Regions from separate parts of the Homo sapiens genome. Here all the other regions are linked to region 2. Evidence: promoter capture Hi-C in 16 types of primary human blood cells and fetal thymus (Javierre and others, 2016). All regions are on one chromosome and are shown on one strand. The core of a region is centred on a gene start or on the middle of the fragment in contact, and the rest is flanking DNA. Distances in the headings are between cores, read along the strand shown.

Region 1 (3,138 bases), core at 639-3,138, 8.4 Mb before region 2:
AGTGAGCTGAGATTACACCAGTGAACTCCAGCCTGGGCGATAGAGCAAGACTCCATCTCAAAAAATAAATACATACATACATACATACATACAAATATCCATGGAAAAGTTGATATATTGAGACCTTCTATCAGCCATTCCCACTATAGTGTAATTTAGCTGTTTCTCTGACAGGAATTTTTATTTAAGAAGAAAGAATTTGGAGAAATAGACATAGTAGGAGGTAACAGATCAGGCTCTTTCCACCAGAAGAAACACAAATACCTTAAAAAACAGGAAGAGGCTAGAGAGATCAGTGGGGTACTAAGACCAATTTTCCATGTATTGTATTTTACAATTTTTGCTAAAGGCATGTCCTAATTCCTTAAGGCTGCATAAAAATACTCAGCCCAGGAGCTAAGGAAAATTTACTCAGAGGACAATGTATGTTTTTCTGGCTTTCTTACCCTGTTTCACCCAAGTTTCCAGTTTCACCTGCCATTGGGTTATGATTACTCCAGCACAGATGACTTGTTCCTCTTCCAAACCCCATGAAAGGAACTTAGAAAATTTGTCTTTATTATATCTTTTAATTAACACTTCCCCAACGGGATAATGATACTTCTGGGCTATCTTATGTTCTTTAAATTATGTATTTAATTTCCTAGCAATCAATAAGAGCCTTGAAGGTTTTGTAAGTCTCACAACTCCTACCTAGTTTATATTTTTACATTTATTTATTTATTTATTTTTGAGACAGAATCTCACTCTGTTGTCCAGGCTGGAGTGAAGTGGTGCGATCTCGGCTCACCACAATCTCCACCTCCCGGCTTCAAGCAATTCTGCCTCAGCCTCCCAAGTAGTTGGGACTACAGGCATGCACCACCACGCCCGGCTAATTTTTGTATTTTTAGTAGAGACGGGTTTCACTATGTTGGCCAGGCTGGTCTCGAACTCCTGACCTCGTGATCCACCCACCTCAGCATCCCAAAGTGTTGGGATTACAGGCGTGAGCCATCGTGCCCAGCCTAGTTCATATTTTTAAAGTTTGTATAGATTTATAGATGCTTTTAAAAATTATGTGATTATGTGTCTTGCCTTGGCAACCTGGGCAGGCATTCCAGACACCCAAAGGGATTATTAGTTCATGTTCGCACGTCTGCCCAGCAACAAAACTGAGCAGCCTCCACCAAGCACGTAAAATCCCCATTCCTCCTCTTATTCATTTATTTAGCACTTAATAGTGCCAGGCAGGAAGGTAAAAATACATTTAAAAAGGAATGGAGGTAGCCGTCTTGCCCTGGAGGTGCAGGAAGCTGCACTTCAGTGTGCTAGGTAGAGGGTACATAGGCCGTTTCTGTTTTTCTTCCAGCTCAGGGATTTATAATGAGAGGAAGTGCTACAAAAAGCTGTGGTGCGAAAATGACGGACGCTATGAATGGAAAAAAAATCTAAAATCAATCCGGTCCTAAGCAAACACGCTTCACCTACACTCATAACTATTGCAGACCTCCGAGGCCTGGGATCCCCAAGAATATACTGAGTTTGACAAACTTTTCAACTTCAACTTTAAATTAAAAAGACAGTAAAAGAACCAAATCCATAGTACACAGCAATCGGCTAAAGTTCCTGGGGCCCTGCAACCCAGAGTTGAATAATTTTGTATTAAATTCCCAATATCAAGCTAAATCTATTTTAACCACAGGAAAAGCAGCAACTTGTCTGGCTATTTTAAAAATCTGAACAGCACTTAGGAAGAAGCACCTTAGCGCAGGGAACAGCTCAGTGCCCCGTGACACAACTCTCCCGCGGGCCCAGGGACGCCTCGTCTCGCGAGAGTTGAGGGACGCCTGAGCGAACCCCCGAGAGAGCGGGCGTGGGCGCCAGGCGGGCGGGGCACTGGGGATTAATTGTTCGGCGATCGCTGGCTGCCGGGACTTTTCTCGCGCTGGTCTCTTCGGTGGTCAGGGATGGCGCGGAAGTCGAACTTGCCTGTGCTTCTCGTGCCGTTTCTGCTCTGCCAGGCCCTAGTGCGCTGCTCCAGCCCTCTGCCCCTGGTCGTCAACACTTGGCCCTTTAAGAATGCAACCGAAGCAGGTGCGGGTTGGCGGCCTGGGCGGGCGGCTGCGCCGCGAGAGCTTGCGGGTGGGGATGACTAGCCCGCCCCGCTGCAGTCACCCGGCAGGGCGGACGGAAGAGCGCCGGGCTGGGCCGGGCCTCGCGGTCCCGCCCTCTAGGTCTTCCCGAGTCTCCAGCGCCGCTCAGTCTCTTGCAAGTGGCCTTTACTGCATCCTCCCCACCTACCGCTGTTGCATTTTAGGTCCTCCCTTCATGCAGCCCCCAGCGCAATGTATTTTCCACCCTGCTGCTGACCATAGTTATGGCCTTTGTGCTTTAATCAAGTAGCAGCTACGCTTTTCTGCCTGACAGTCTTTTCACGGGCTGTGTACGTCTCCACCTCTCGTTTCTAATCCTTCACTTCTTTGCAATTTTGTAGACGACTAATAGTGTCCCAGCCATAGCCTACTCTTTTCCCATTTACTTTTTTTGCCACGTGTTGTCATACTTTACCTGCCACTTAGAATTCAAGGTTCCAACCTTTGCTGTACATTCACACTATCTGGGGAGCTTCTCAAAAATCATCCTGCCGGGGCCCACCTCCTGTGACTGTGATCTAACTGCTGGAATCAGGGCCACTGTTTTTCTTTAAAAAGCTCCCTAGGTGATTTCGATTTGCAGACAGGGTTGAGAACCACTAAGCTAAGGTATCACCTCTTCCAGGAAGCGTTCCCTGACTTAACTGCCCTCGTGTCCAGAATGAGTTAGGTTCCTGCCTTCTACACCTTGTTAATAGCCTTTACGTACCATTATCTTGGCATTTTCGCATTGTACTATGCTTGTTTCTTTCATTTGCTTAATGACCAGAAGAGTCATTTTCAGACCCCTCCTCCTCCATCTGAGGTTGCTAACGTATTAACTTTCTAGGGCAGAATTGGCTCCAGAATTTGGTGGCAGTGCATACGATTCAGAGAAAATGAAGAAGCAGGCTGTGAGAAAGATATTCCCAGCCATAATGAGACGAAAAGAAATTGCATCAGCCTGGGCGGGGGACAGTTCTGTGTTTAAGTTGCCTGTATTGAAAGAGGGAACTTGCGTAAA
Region 2 (3,100 bases), core at 282-2,781:
ATTTGCTTTTAATAAAGTCTAATAGATGCTATGAAAACAGCCTTACAATCTCTTTTTCTTTTCATGAAGCTCACTGTCTACTACAATGCTTAGTGTGCCATTTAGGAGGACCTATGAGGAGGGAGTTTTGCTCAGGCTTCTCTGCTGCATAACCAGGAGGCTGATTTCTTACAGAAATTACCACTTGTAATTATATTTCCTTTGTTGCTTTCGCTGGCAGGAAACTCTAAGTTTATGAATCTCTTCTTTAATACTAAATAGATTCTTATAGCATGACTTTATTCGTATTTTTTCCACTGACCTAATTTATTGTTCTGGCCTTGTGGGAGAAGGGGCAGTGGTCCTCTTTGCCTTTTAAATTCAAATACTCATGTATTTTTGCAAACCATTTCAAATCTTTTTTTGGATCTAAATGGAATAGGAATAACAAATTTAAATTAATGCTCAACTTGCTTATTTATAGACTTTTTGCTCTTGTTTTCCTTTTTTCAAACCTCATCCAGCCCTCAAATCCAGCTTTTCCATGCACCCCTTCATTCTTCACTGATCTCCATTTTCTCGGAGCTCTTGTGTTAATATAATTTTGCATTTTACTAAGTATGATTTTGGATACCTCCTAGTGTTTCATGTGTATTAGTCCTGTAGTTCTGGGTTGTAGTTTTTTTAGTGGTAGGGACCATGGCTCATACTTTTCTGAATCTAGTAAAATAATATTGTATCAGAAATGCTTTCTGTTTACACTATAATTGTAACAAACATTGAATTTTTTAGCTTATTAACTCTCAGAGCACCCAGTACATCTTATTTAGAATTGCAGGAACCCATTTTTGTTTCTCTACAGCAGCCGAAGCTTGTTTCATAGATCTTGCAAGACTATTCAATCATTCAGTTAAAATTCCTTGACCTCCTGCTGGATGATGTTCGACAGGGCATTCATCTTCACGACACCCTTCGCGATGAATGGTAACATCTGGGCGGGTAGAGGTCCATTTCTACAGCAACCTGGGGGAGGAACAGGTAGGGTAGGTTTTGGTGTGGGTGCGATTCTTGGGGACTTCTTCAACAGGTAGGACATCAAGTCTGTAGCCAAAACAACACCTGGGCGAAGGGCAAATACCGGAGCCCCGACCGGCTCACGCCCAGTAATGCTTTCTCTGGGTTCTAACTACGTGATCAGGTCGTCTTGGTTTGCCAGGGAAAGCCCAGCGTCTTGACAACCCTGTCAGTTCCGAACAAACCGGGTCGATTGGTCACCGGGGCTCGAATCCCGACTGATATGACCCAGCGGGGACAGAGGATCCCCCTCAGTGCCACAAGTACATTCCCCACCGAGCAGCGCGCCTGCGCCAGTTGCTCTCATGCGTCAAGACTACAGGTCCCAGCAAGCATCGAGGCCCTCTCCAGGCCATTCTTCCGCCGGCGGGGAGCTCTCGTCGGCGTATTTGTTAGGTGTGGCGCGGAAGAGTCCGTGCGTGATGACGTCGACGCGGCGACGTCGAGCTCTTCCTCCTTTTCACGGCGTCTTGCATTACTATTGTGCGGCTGCAGGAGGTGTCGAGCGGCGTTATTTTTTTTTGCGGTTTGCCTTTTTTTTTCTTTTTTTTTTTTTTGGAACCGCGGTTGTTTAAAAGCCTGAGGGAACCTGGAGAGGGGCTCCCACTCCCTACCCTCTTTCCTCCGAGTTTGTGACTCCGAGATGGACAAAGTGTGTGCTGTTTTTGGAGGCTCCCGAGGCATTGGCAGAGCTGTGGCCCAGTTAATGGCCCGGAAAGGCTACCGACTGGCGGTCATTGCCAGAAACCTGGAAGGGGCCAAAGCCGCCGCCGGTGACCTCGGCGGTAGGTACCAAACTGGAGTTGTCCAGTTGTATGGCCGCGGTCCAGGCGCCTAAAGAAAATCTCCTTTGTAAAAAGAGCGGGTCTGGCCTTTAGGGCTCTAGGGTTACTCGATGTAGCCGCGTGCAGGCGCTCTCCCGTTCCAAGGGTAGAATGCGTCTCGTGCAGAAACCCGCGATCTCCCTATGCCTCGCAGAATGCCGGCCACGCAGCTTGCCGCCGAGGGCTGAACACTTGGGGTGTTCTTTGAGACCTCGTAGTCTTTTGAGGCCCCGCTATACGCACCCTCCGCCCTGCGGCTAGTGCTAACGCTGAGGAGCTTCCCTGTTGTGGGAGAGAGCCACGTAACAGTTTACTTTTAATGTAGGGAAAAGGGCGAGTTCTCGGCCCCCGGAGACAGGGCTGGGTCGAAAGGAGTTCAGGCAGGAAAGGTGGGAGTGCAGGTACCAACGGCTCCCTTCAGTTTTGCCCAAGGGCCGTGCCTTGGCCCTGCGCGAATGCACAAAGCAGTGTTTGATAGAGAAACCCTTTTGAGTACCAGCCAGTTTTGAGATATACCTGGTTTGCTTTAATGTTATTAAATTGTTTTGGTGAGTTTTGCAAATGGACAATTGAACTTTGTTCTGCCAAATTCTTTTTTATTGCATTTAAACTTCAGGGTTTTTTATTTCCGGCTTATTATGAATGGATTAGTCATTTTGTGAATATAACTCTTCATTGAGTTTAGGGAGAAATAGGACGTTAGATCCGAAGATGCTATTTGTTTAATCACCAGAATGGACAAAATTATACTTCATTTACTATCAGGGAGGCATGGGGAGAATAGAGGCCTAGGGGTGCGTCTTGTGGCTCTTACTGTTTTTGTGTATCTGGTTTTTTTTTTTTTTTTTTGAGAGGGCTTCCCATTATGTTGCCCGTGCTGGACCCCAACTCCTGATTTACTGGCTCTAGAGATCTTCTCGCCTCAGTCTCCCAAGGACCTGGGACTATAGACGCCAGGTGTGGCTGTTCATTTTTAAGTTAACATTATTGATCGGTTTGGTATCACCTGTTCAGTGCTGGTTGGGAGACTATTGGGCTCTCTAAAAGAAAAAAGATTCTGTAAGTTATAGGTCAGGGAGAGTGTCAGTGAATGCTTCTTGAAGCTCATATTCCTTACCATTCTAACAAAGGAGGGGAAGAGTGGTGACCCTTACTGTGTCACCCCAAGCCATCAGTGTTTGCTGGACTGGATTGAAGCCATTAGTTGGGCTTTCAAAGGTGGT
Region 3 (2,961 bases), core at 108-2,607, 5.9 Mb after region 2:
CATGCCTGTTTGATCTCCCATCATATATGAAATTGTATTGCATCTTGGTCTACACTTAGTAATTATCAATTGAATATATTGTTTTCTAGGCATAAGTTGGTTTATAAATTTTGTCCTGAATGCAGGCCTCTTTTAACTTAGGTTTTTATTACTATATGTATATTTGGAACTATTAAATTCTATTTTAGAATACACTTTGATAGCACTTATTAACATTCTTCCCAAAGTGCTTGTTATTTAAGCAATGGTTTGTATACTTAAGATCATTTTTCATTAATATTCACTAGTGTTCTTCAAAAATAATTAATACTCAGGGTTTTTTAAATTAAAGTTTTATATCTTACAGAATATTTCAATAAAGCTTACATGAGGCATGAATGATTTCATAAACATGAAATAAATACTGTTTTATTCAGTAGAGTATCCATTTATGTCCTGTGTATATACATATATAATTATTATTACACAGAAACATTCAATTGTTTAGATTCCCCCATTCCTCAGTAGTTTCTAATAAGTGAATTCTGCTGATTGCTTTAGAAGATAAAGACAAATATCTGTTAAAGAGCAATGGAACTAGAGAATGAGCATATACACTTTAGCTGAAAGCAAAGTAGCACCAGAGAGTTAATGGTTGAATGTCAGATGAATGGTGTACTGCACATAAGAAGTGATAGGATTGAGTGGAAGGGGAGGTAATAAGGATTTCTGAAAAATTTAGGCTAATACTCTGTGGCATTTTACAATTATTTGGCAGTCTTTTTATCTTAGTGATATAAAATCAGTGTCTTAAAGTTGATGAAATATGCACTCAATTAACATGAAAGATAGGCTTAAAGTTATATTCATTGTTGGAGGTTTCTTATTGAGATGGACTATAGTTTTATATTTAAGCAAATTAAATTTTGAAAGTATTATGAACTTTGTTTCTCTTAACAGTAATTTTAGAGAAAAACAGGATAATAATGTATTCATTTAAAAAAGAAAAATATCAAGACACTTCAAAGAAATGTTGACCCTCATTTTTTAATTGACTTGTCTGAGTCTTAAGTTTAGTGTCATACACAATAGGGTAATTAATGAGGGGACTAATGCTTACTGGTGATAAATAGCTGAGTTTCATGGAAACTTGTAAAATTACTTCCCCTGAAGAAGTTAATGAATTAGAATACATGTTAAGTATGGTCATAGTTGACACAAAGTGTACAGACCTAATCCATTCTTTTTCCAATATGTTTTACCAGCTATAGAGAAAAAAAAAATTCAGTCATGGCTCTCAGTACTCCAGGGATTGGATCCTACTTTCCAACCATATCTGAAAAGTGAAGGCTCACCTAATAGCATCAGGTAATTGGCTGCCACGTGCATGTCCTGTGTTGGGTAATATGAGAAAAGTGGTTAGATAATTTCATCCCACCTTCCTCACTTTTCTCAATTCTCCCCAAACTGACACCAAAAAGGTTTAGTTTTCATTTGGAATGTTTGATTCCTTCTCCCACCAACCTCTGTTGTCCTTTTTCCATATTTGTGAGTGAAAATCCTACTGAAAGTTCTTTATATAATTTTACTTTAGAAAGTCATCAATTTACTGATACTCTTTTTTGCTCAATAAGCCTTCACAAATGCTTGAAAAGTCAACAGTGTTGTAAATTATAAATGTTACCTTTTCAGAGGGCCACTTTTGACATATTAGCTTCTTCCATTTTTGCATTGAAAGTTTTAGGCACCCATTTTTTGACTGGTATGTCTATAACCTCATTTTTAATAGGATGGATTTTTAATGTTATGTGGTACTCTTTTGAATATTTTGCTTAACTGAATAACCTTGTAGACCATACAGATGTTAGAAAATTAAAATATAATAATCTTACAAAACAGACAATAATTGCTCTTTCATGGATATTCCAGAAGTGTGGTTAGGATCTTGCATTTCTTTAATGCCATCGTTACGAGTATCTGTTATCACAGAAGCACAGTAATTTTTTTATTGGGATCTAGTATATAATTTCTGTATTAATGTGTTGTCTTTTTGATTACATGCAGTTGGACATTTAAATTGTCGTTAGCCATTTGTGTAACTGTTTAGAACTTGTGCTCAGTTTCCTTACTATTCGTAGGTAAGAAAAATGAAACCAGAAAGAAAGAGACTTGTCTGAAGTCATATTAGTGGGGAGGAGCAGATCTGAACTGGTAATAGATACATTCCAAACTGCTGTGTTTTTAGTATTTGTGGAGACCTGCATAGCAACGTTGGAATCTGGTCGTTTGGACTTTCTCATTATTTGGTTTCTGAATAATCATGTAGCATATTTTCTCAAAGTGAAGGATGAATGTATCATCTAATGTAAGCTTTTTAAAATTGTATTTGCTTGGATTATATTGCCTCTCAATAAAGCTTTTGACTTGGAACTGTGTAGTGTGTGGGAAATAAATGGTGGAGCTTCTTTAGTATGTTGAATTTTAGTAGTTCATTTGCGAAATGCTGTGGTGTTTGGGGATGTTTATTTCCATGCAAGCTTTTCATTTGCTAATGATGTGAATGAAATAGTTTTCTTCCTTTCCTTTCCTACTCTTTGTTATGTGTAGAAGTATTGAATAAATGAGTCCAGAAAAACTTTTTGCTGTTCTTTGATTTTTTGTTAGTAAACATTTACAAAAATTTCATTTGTATGATAAAATAGTTATTTCTAATGGCAGATAATGTACATCCAGAACAGGCTTTTAGTTGCATTTTAATTTTGGGAAACAATGAAATTAAAATATAGATTTATCACAAATCTCCATTTCCAAGTAGAGTATTCAGGTTAGCATTAAGACTTCATTAGTAATATGGTGCATGCTGTTAAAATGTGGTCTTAAAATTATACCTGTGTTAATGGCCAGAAATAAATTGATATTGTTAATGCCTGGGAATATGTTTTGTAATGGAGGGCTTTTTTGATGTGTGAGAATGTAAAGCAG
Region 4 (3,060 bases), core at 554-3,053, 7.2 Mb before region 2:
CTTTGAATAGAATAGGAGGCAGGTTTGCCCTAAGCAGTTCCCACTTTGACTTTTCCCTTTAGCTTAGTGATTTGGGGGAGGTGGGGGGGGTCCCAAGATTTAATTTCCTTTCACAGTAGAAATGGCTATTCAAAGCTTTCATCTTAAAAATCAGCTTAAAATACCACCTTCTAAGATCCAAATTAATGGTCATCTCTTTTGAGAGGACTTCTTACACTCTCCCAGGCCAAAGTATTTGCTTCCTTTCTGGTGCTAACATATTTTTACCATGGCAGAGCTTTTCAGTGTATGTAATCTTTTCACTGATATTTCTATCTCTGAATCTCTTATAAATGATCTGCCGCACAGAGCTGTCCAATCGAAATTCCTGTAGTGATGGAACAGTGCTGTGTCTGTCCTACCCAACATGGCAGCCACTAGCTACATATGGCTATTGAGCAGGTAAAATGTAGCCAGTGGAACTGAGTTTATTTAAATTTAAGTTTAAATAGCCACATGTGGCTAGTGGCTACCATATTGGATGGTAAAGATCTAGCACATACTCCAGGATAGTTCCTCAGAAAAGGTTTACAGAATGAATGAATCATTCATTAAAACTTTTTTAGCCTAACAGAAAACACTTACATAGCTTCAGTTTTGGTTTTCTTTTTTAACCACATACAGAATACACTGGTTTACTTTATTAATAAGCATGTATATGAATAAACATTAAAAATATTACATAGTATCATTATCAAGATCTATCCCATATTTTACCATGTGTATGTATCCACAGGGCCTGTCACCTGGCTCTCTGCAGCCTCAAGTTCCTGAGCTCAAGCAATCCTCCCACCTCAGCATCTGGAGTACTTGAGAGTACAGGTGTGCACCACCACACCCAGCTATTTTGTTTGTTTGTTTGTTTTGTAGCGAAAGTCTCTCCACCTTGTGTTGCCCAGGCTGGTCTTGAACTCCTGAGCTCAAACGATCCTCCCGCCTCCACCACCCAAAGTGCTGGGATTACAGGCATGACCCACTGTGCCCTGCCAAGCAAAAAAAAACAAAAAACAAAAAACAAAAAACAAAAAACTGTGGCTGTAAAAATTTTTAATGGATTTTAATAATTAAGCTTACATATTTATAATTGCCTATGCCAACTTTGCAGTTGTTTTCATTGTGTTCAGATAGATCCCAAGTGACTAGATGAATGCGTGGCACATAATATGGACTCAATACATATTTGTTGAATTAATGAAGGAATTATGCCTACTAGGAGATTTTAATTAAGTGTGAAAATCTAACCTACACATCGTTTTCAAATATTAATGTTTACAAATACTTAATGCAATAATTAAGGAAATAGTTATGTTAAATTTTGTGGACATTCATTTCCATTTCAAAGATTTTTTTCCCCCATCTCTTCCAATTCCCAAACAAAAACTGTCCTTGGCCTCTGGAGTCTTCTCACACCACTCCTCAAACTAGACGACTGAAAATAGGCCTTTGGCTGGGCAGAAACCAACAATATTTAAAATACAAAACTTATGAACGATGACATAAGAAAAAAAAAGCTCTAAATAGGTTAACAGTGAGGCCAACTAAATCTGAGACTGAAAGCGCTCCCCAGACCGCAGCCACACCACTGGGACCCCAGCTTTGCCTCCCTCGATACCCGGCCCCGCGGTCCAAAATCTGAGTAAAGCGGAAGTACGGGCGGCTGCTGCGGCGCTTGCGCAGGCGCTGAGGTCTCGCCCCATAAGACTCCGCCCCGCCCCACGAGACCGCGCCGCCAGCAATAAGGCCCAGCCCCGCCTTCTGCTGTTGCCGCAGCAACCCAGAAAGCGTCATGGCTGCCGCCGGCCAGGAAAAAGGGTATTTGACACAGACTGCGGCAGCCCTAGACAAGTCACCGTCACTTTCGCCACAGCTAGCAGCTCCCATCCGAGGGAGGCCTAAGAAGTGTCTGGTCTATCCGCATGCGCCGAAGAGCTCCCGCTTGTCTCGTTCCGTTCTGCGTTGGCTTCAGGGTCTGGATCTCAGCTTCTTCCCCAGGAACATCAACAGGTGCTTGAGTAAGCCAGTCCTAGGCCCCCCCGGTGGGCGCCCCGCCTGCTTTCCGCCGCCTGCCAGGCCTCAGATTGCCTACCCTGGCCTGGCTTATGTTTCAAATCAAGACCCCCCCACCCACGTACACACACGAAAACACTATTAGGGAACAAGGCTTTAACAAAATACCACGATACATCTTGTTTATTCAATTAATCAACCAATCATTAAATTGTGGACAATATAGAATGCTTTGGTGACTACAAAAATATTAAAATAGTCAAAGCTTTTTCTTTAGTGATATTGGGCATTAATACTGGTAAGGACGGCCGGGCACAGTTGCTCATGCCTGTAATCCCAGCATTTTGGGAGCCGAGGCAGGCGGATCACCTGAGGTCAGGAGTTGAGTAACAGCCTGACCAACACGGTGAAACCCCGTCTCTACTAAAAAATACAAAAAATTAGCCCAGTGTGGTGGCGGGTGCCTGTAATCCCAGCTACTGGGGAGGCTGCAGGCAGGAGAATGCTTGAACCCGGGAGGCGGAGGTTGCTGTGAGTCGAGATTATGCCGCTGCACTCCAGCCTAGGTGGCAGGGTAAGACTCTGTCTCAAAAAAAAAAAAAAAAAAAAAAAAAAAAAATACTGGTAAGGATCAGTTTACCCTTTGTCGGAGATGGCATCTAGTTTGAGAGTTACCAACAAGTTTTTAAAGTTGCTGCTTAATTGTAGGCACTTTGTATGTAACTGGCAGCTAATATTTGCTCTGGGAATGCAAACTAAATTCTATAAAAAGGCAATGAATCTTTTGCAGAACTCTGGTTTAAAGTAGTCTCTCCTTATCAGAGAGGCATAGGTTCCAAGATCCCCAGTGGATGGCAACTGTGGATACTACAGAACCCTCTGTCAGAACACATTTCTGTTTATGTCTTCCATCCACAAATTTAATGCCTTTTTAAAAATCTTAACTAAGCACTTATCACACACTGTGGCTGAAAGTTTTTCAGTTTGAGGTGTGATGCCGAAACTATCAAGAAT

The links. Contacts are between HindIII fragments. The CHiCAGO score rates a contact against its expected background, and 5 or more counts as called.
Region 1: the fragment with the promoter of AGA here is called in contact with the fragment with the promoter of CBR4 in region 2 in 1 of 17 cell types (non-activated CD4 T cells); the score reaches 6.3 in non-activated CD4 T cells.
Region 3: a contact is called between a fragment that was not itself captured here and the fragment with the promoter of CBR4 in region 2, in 1 of 17 cell types (naive CD8 T cells). The highest score is 5.1, in naive CD8 T cells.
Region 4: a contact is called between the fragment with the promoter of SPATA4 here and the fragment with the promoter of CBR4 in region 2, in 5 of 17 cell types (total CD4 T cells, activated CD4 T cells, total CD8 T cells and 2 more). The highest score is 18.1, in total CD4 T cells.

Annotation. Positions count from the first base shown.
Region 1 is chr4:177,441,187-177,444,324 of GRCh38, reverse strand. It overlaps AGA (aspartylglucosaminidase), which reads left to right and starts at 1,888. Exons shown (of 9, transcript NM_000027.4): 1 at 1,888-2,076. The coding sequence starts at 1,950. It also overlaps a transcript of AGA-DT not described here. RefSeq lists enhancers at 1,223-1,302, 1,393-1,936, 2,763-2,842. The HindIII fragment of the contact is 8,233 bases long and covers 1-3,138 here.
Region 2 is chr4:169,008,686-169,011,785 of GRCh38, reverse strand. It overlaps CBR4 (carbonyl reductase 4), which reads left to right and starts at 1,531. Exons shown (of 5, transcript NM_032783.5): 1 at 1,531-1,838. The coding sequence starts at 1,697. It overlaps CBR4-DT (CBR4 divergent transcript), which reads right to left and starts at 1,357. Exons shown (of 2, transcript NR_185919.1): 1 at 1,330-1,357; 2 at 726-1,002. RefSeq lists enhancers at 1,152-1,481, 1,581-2,530. The HindIII fragment of the contact is 6,180 bases long and covers 853-3,100 here.
Region 3 is chr4:163,156,611-163,159,571 of GRCh38, reverse strand. The region is part of intron 2 of NAF1 (nuclear assembly factor 1 ribonucleoprotein); the gene reads left to right. Among named protein-coding and RNA genes, the nearest start is that of NAF1, 8.8 kb to the left of the region's middle. The HindIII fragment of the contact is 1,988 bases long and covers 364-2,351 here.
Region 4 is chr4:176,194,328-176,197,387 of GRCh38, reverse strand. SPATA4 (spermatogenesis associated 4) reads left to right here and starts at 1,803. Exons shown (of 6, transcript NM_144644.4): 1 at 1,803-2,043. The coding sequence starts at 1,826. The HindIII fragment of the contact is 1,203 bases long and covers 1,111-2,313 here.